Linked DNA regions of Homo sapiens: region 1 is linked to region 2. The links are contacts of gene promoters, found by promoter capture Hi-C in blood cells and fetal thymus (Javierre and others, 2016). All regions are on one chromosome and are shown on one strand. Each heading gives the region's core, a stretch centred on a gene start or on the middle of the fragment in contact. The rest is flanking DNA. Distances are from core to core; before and after follow the strand shown. Region 1 overlaps KHDRBS1 (KH RNA binding domain containing, signal transduction associated 1). Region 2 holds the start of MARCKSL1 (MARCKS like 1).

What was found. Contacts are between HindIII fragments. The CHiCAGO score rates a contact against its expected background, and 5 or more counts as called.
Region 1: a fragment that was not itself captured here is called in contact with the fragment with the promoter of MARCKSL1 in region 2 in 1 of 17 cell types (total CD8 T cells); the score reaches 5.9 in total CD8 T cells.

The regions. Positions count from the first base shown.
Region 1 is chr1:32,036,657-32,039,356 of GRCh38, reverse strand. KHDRBS1 (KH RNA binding domain containing, signal transduction associated 1) reads right to left here. Exons shown (of 9, transcript NM_006559.3): 5 at 2,314-2,447; 6 at 1,321-1,522; 7 at 738-805. Among named protein-coding and RNA genes, the nearest start is that of KHDRBS1, 24 kb to the right of the region's middle. The HindIII fragment of the contact is 3,062 bases long and covers 1-2,700 here.
Region 2 is chr1:32,334,812-32,337,511 of GRCh38, reverse strand. It overlaps MARCKSL1 (MARCKS like 1), which reads left to right and starts at 1,279. Exons shown (of 2, transcript NM_023009.7): 1 at 1,279-1,565; 2 at 2,415-2,700. The coding sequence starts at 1,479. LOC124903949 (a long non-coding RNA gene) reads right to left here and starts at 2,135. Exons shown (of 2, transcript XR_007065661.1): 1 at 2,008-2,135. RefSeq lists silencers at 1-34, 968-1,497, 1,518-1,667, 1,798-1,877, 2,018-2,457 and enhancers at 698-787, 1,057-1,626. The HindIII fragment of the contact is 20,076 bases long and covers 1-2,700 here.

The DNA.
Region 1 (2,700 bases), core at 73-2,572, 300 kb after region 2:
ATAGACTATGTACTTATAAAATAATTGACAACTATTGCAAAGAAAAATGGATACCACAGAATATAAAGTGAAAAAGCACAATCCTAAATTGACCCTTTTAATATAGCATATATATACATGTATTCATAGGGCTCACCAGAAGGAAAAAAGAACTGTTTTATCACTGCTGTAGAATTCTGGAACTCTTTTTCAATCAATTCACAGGTAAGCTATATATATGGACACACAAGGAAATGGTCTTAAAGAGAAATGCAGAAAAGAACCTAAGTTATGGTAATGGAATTCAAGTTTCTTGTAAAATTTTATGGAGCTTTAATGTGGTTTTGATATTTTAAAATAATAAATCAAAATAACATAAAGGCATTTCTCCTTGTTTCCATGTAGTCACAGCTTGGAAATTTTTCATTTGTTACTCTCAGGTTCTAAATTATAATTTAAGGTTCACAGTTATCCAGATTTACAAATCCAAGTGTGTGCTTCACAGATGTCAAACGCAGAGGAAAGCATTGCATGGTGGCACGCACCTGTAACCCCAGCTACTAGAGAGAGCTAAAGTGGGAGGACTGCTTGAGCTCAAGAGTTCAAGACCAGTCAGGACTGTGGGGGTTGCAGAGGAGATACCCTCAAAAGGCGAACCATTCTGCTCCTTAGGGTTGTACTGTCTAAATCTCTCTGTTCCTCCAACTCCCTCCATCCATCCTCAGGACAAAAAACAGTGCTTATACTGCCTGACTCACCCTTGACTCTGGCTGTAATAGCCTTCGTAGCCTTCGTAACTTTGTTCTGCGTATGTATCATCATATCCCTAGAACAACAACAACAAAAAAATGAAATAAAAGATCAAAATCATAGAGAGTAGGAAAGGTAATTACATCCCATGGGAGTAAGTAGGCTTCTGAATTAAAAGGACATGACATTTCCCTCCAAAATGTTAATGCCTACTGTAGAATAGTCAAAAGAGAAAGGGTTACTAAACAAAGAAAACCCAAACAAATATGATATGCCACAGAAGAAGTGTGGGCAGGAAGTAAAGTACAAAATCGAGCTTTAGTATTATCAGTACTAGTAGTAAGAAATTCATTATAAAATACTACATTAAAGTACATTTTATTTCTTGTTTAATCTACAGGCGTATAGTAAAACCCTGCCTAAAATGGAAAAATCTTCTAATAGTTCAACATTCACTGCAAGAGAAGAGGGCAGATTGCAAATCTTACAGGCAGTCCATGACACCTACATAAAGGACCGAGGCCCTGTCATTCAACTTCCTTTAGCAGCCTTCTAGGTACTGGGAAATGGCACATTGTTCAAATTTCTTACATATTCTTCATATGTTTCTGGTGCAGGAGGTGGAGGCAAAGGTATCCTCTGGATGCCCGCTGTCCGTGCTCTTGGTGCTGGAGCACCCCTCACAGTAGGTGGGGGTGGCACGCCTCGAGTCACAGTGGCACCTCTGGTGATGGCTCCCCTTACTGGTGTACCACGTACCAAAGCCCCCCGAGGTGGTCCAACACCACGGCCCCTACAAAATGAAAGTTTATCTTAAATGGAGCTTTTTATAAACAGGCCACTTTTATGTTCTGATTTGTTTACAAATTCTGGAATTAGGCAGATTTTATGAAGCCTTAACTAGGCTATTATTAAAGCACAGAGGAATGTACAGGGTAAAGGACCCACACTGCAAGATCCCCCAGGTCCTATAGAGGACCAATTCATCACTGCACTGCCTTGGGTAGGTCTGGAGAGTCTGAATACTCTATAAAGGTCAGTCACAAAAGGTAGAATTTTAAAGTCAGACCATTAACAAATGCTAAGACTGTCCAAAATTAGAAGACCAAAAGTTTCAGCTAGACTGCAGCACTTGGCTATGGTCAAAGTGCCCAAGATCTAGAACTCTATTTTTTTTTTTTTTTGAAATGGAGTCTTGCTCTATCTCCCAGGCTGAAGTGCAGTGGCATGATCTCGGCTCACTGCAACTTCCGTCTCCTGGGTTCAAGCAATTCTCTTGCCCCAGCCTCCTGAGTAGTGTGGTGTATGCCACCACACCTGGATAATTTTTGTATTTTTAGTAGAGACAGGGTTTCACCATGTTGGCCAGGCTGGTCTCAAACTCCAAATGTCAGTTGATCCGCCTGCCTTAGCCTCCTAAAGTGCTGGGATTACAGGTGTGAGAGTATGGTTGTAGAATTCTGTTCTTTATGCAACATACAAATCCTGAGACCCTTCCTAAGCTAGACATAAGAGCACCACTAAAAGAGATGACACTAGTAGTCAAATTCACATCCTATTTCTGGGTGTCTCCATTATTTTTACCTGGGAACAGGTGGTGGAGGAGGTGCAGCTCCCCGGCCTCTCACTGGCACCCCACGTCCACGAGAGGGTTCAGGTACTCCATTCAAGTAGGACAGCTCTAGAAATTGCTCCTGACAGATATCATCCATCATATCCTGGGAACGAAAGATACAAGGAGTATTGTGTGGTATCTACACTTTCTACTGAGAAATCATCTGGTCCACGGGAGACTTGAATTCTAAGAAGAGCTCTTGAGAGCCCAGATGAGGTCTCAGGTCATTCCTTCTCTGAAGTCAAATGGCACCCTATCTGTCACCTCTTTGAGAAAAGTCTTGATGGTAGACCCCTCATTATTCATAATGTGGTCTCTGCCTAGCTCTCCGGATCACTTCCATTCTCTCTCTATAT
Region 2 (2,700 bases), core at 30-2,529:
AGCCTCAGGCCTCCCAGGAGGCTTCACCGTAGGAGGGAGGGGAGGGACTTGCTGAGCTGGCTGGGACACAGCCTTGCATTTGCAACACTTTGCTTCCTTCCAGCCCCCATCCCTTTCCTCCTGGGGGCTGAGGGCTGGCAGCCGGACACAGACATCCGGGGCCGGCCAGGATTCTGGGGTTCCCACCAGCCTATCCAGGCCAGCAGAAGGAGAGGTGGCAGAGGACCAAAGCTAGGGAGTCTCCAGCCCGGAGCACCTCCGGGCTCCCTTGCTCTCAGGCAGGGTGGGAAGCTGGGCTGGGCAGCTTTGAGGGCTGTCCTCAAGGGGCTGTCCCTTGAAGGGACCCTTGGTAGCATCCTATCCCTCCCCTTCAGAAACTGGGGTGTTTTGAGGTTTGTTGAGTCCCCAGCTGGGGTTCCTCTGCCGGCCTGGGGCACCCTGATGTAGGGGAGCAGAGTTGTGTGTGGAGGTAAAGAGGAAGGACCAGAGCCAAGTCAGACAGGTTGTCAATGCCTCTGAGCCTTGGCCTTTCAATGGGGATGGAGATGCCCTTCAAGGTCACAAAGTCCCCCACGTGGGACTTTGCAGTGGGTCCAGGCTGAGGGCAGGAGGGGCTCAAGGCGAATCTGTCTGTCCCCACTCAGAATGACTGGCCACCAAGGGACTGAAAGGAGGAATGAGGGAAAGGCCTCACTAGTCCGACCAGAGTGACCCCGAGGCAAGGCAGAGCCCTCCGCTCCCCGGCTGGCCATGGCAGGCAGGCAGGGACGTGGGTGGGACCTCTGACCGCTCTCCAGGCCGGAGCGGGTGCCGAGCCCAGCGCAGGGGCCCTGCAGCTTCTATGACCACATTTCTAGAGTATAATTCAGGACCAGCCATCTGACGAGCCTGGTCGTGTGAGCCCTTCGAAGGGTTCAAGCGGGAGACTGCCAGCGGCTGCAGGACCAAGGCGTTGGGGGCCGCTCCAGGCTGCGGGGGCGCCCACCGGAGAGGTGGAGCGGAGAGGATGGAATGACTGCCCGTCTCCTTCCTCCAGGCCCCCCGCCCCGCCCCGCCCAGCTCGCGGGAGGACTGGCCTCGCTCCTGCCCACACCGGACTCTACCTGCCCCTGGGATTCGGGTGGGGTGGGGGGTACCCGACCGCCAGCGTCGCCTGCTGCGCAAGTGGGGCCTGCGAGCCAACCCCGCCTCCGCCCCTCGATTGGGCGCGCATTTAAATGTCCGGCCCCGCCCCGAGCTCCGGGCGCTTATATATAGGCAGCTCGGCGGGCGGCGGGCGGCATTCTGGCGCGGAGCGGAGCGGCGGCGGGCGCAGCTAGCGGGTCGGCCGCGGAGCGGAGGTGCAGCTCGGCTTCCCCCGGCACCCCTCCCCCTCGGGCGCCAGCCCCACCCCTCCGCCGGCCGGGCCGACCCCGCCGTACTATCCCCTGCGGCGCGAGCCCGGGGCGGCTCCAAGCGCCCCCCAGCAGACCCCCATCATGGGCAGCCAGAGCTCCAAGGCTCCCCGGGGCGACGTGACCGCCGAGGAGGCAGCAGGCGCTTCCCCCGCGAAGGCCAACGGCCAGGTGGGTACGCTTGGCCCGGCCGGCCCCAGCCCCTCCTCTCGCACCTCGCCCCTTCTAGGGCCCGGGGCCGGGGCCGGGGCCGCGCGCTTTGTCCGGCCCGGGACACGCGGCGCCCCCTCCCCCGCCCGGTCCCTTTGTTCTCGGCGCCGCAGCCCCCGCGGGCGAAGCGAGGGGAGGGGCGGGGAGGGGGCGCCGGCCGGGCCCTGCCGCCTTCTTTGTTCGCGGCCCCGGTCCCCGGCGCTGCCCCCCGGCCGCCCCGAGTGCCGCGCGGGGAACAAAGGCGCTGCTGGGCCACGCCAAGGGGGCGCCCAGGGGCCGCGGAGCTGGGGCCCGGCGGGGAGCGCACTCCACCCGCCGACCCGACCTCGGTGGCCCACGGTCTTTTTTTTTTTAAGGGGGAGCCGAGATGCGGGAGAGCCTGGGGTGGGTGGGGGCCACTTACACAAAGCGGGAGGCTGGGAAAATAGGCCGTCCAGGTGCAGAGAGACAGCGCCCCGGGGCGGCTTCCCGCCCAATGTCGCCTAGAGCGGCTCGCCCGCCTGCCCGGGATCCGCACAGCAGATCCGGAGCGGTTCCGCGCGGAATAGAGAGCGCGCCCCGGGGGACGGGGGTGGGGGCCACGGGACCCCAGCGCCTCCTGCCGGTCGCGCCCTCTGCGCGCTCGCTCCCCGCGCGCCCGTGAGGGGCGAGAGGGAGGTGTTTGACGGGATCCTGGGTGTGGGTGAGGCTGAAGCCAGACTTTCGGGTTGCAGTAGAATCGAATCGAGGACCCCTTCCTCTAGAAGGGATCAGAAGCGGGCTGGGGGAGGGGGAGCCCCTGCCCTCATTGCTATTCCCTCTGCCCTGCAGGAGAATGGCCACGTGAAAAGCAATGGAGACTTATCCCCCAAGGGTGAAGGGGAGTCGCCCCCTGTGAACGGAACAGATGAGGCAGCCGGGGCCACTGGCGATGCCATCGAGCCAGCACCCCCTAGCCAGGGTGCTGAGGCCAAGGGGGAGGTCCCCCCCAAGGAGACCCCCAAGAAGAAGAAGAAATTCTCTTTCAAGAAGCCTTTCAAATTGAGCGGCCTGTCCTTCAAGAGAAATCGGAAGGAGGGTGGGGGTGATTCTTCTGCCTCCTCACCCACAGAGGAAG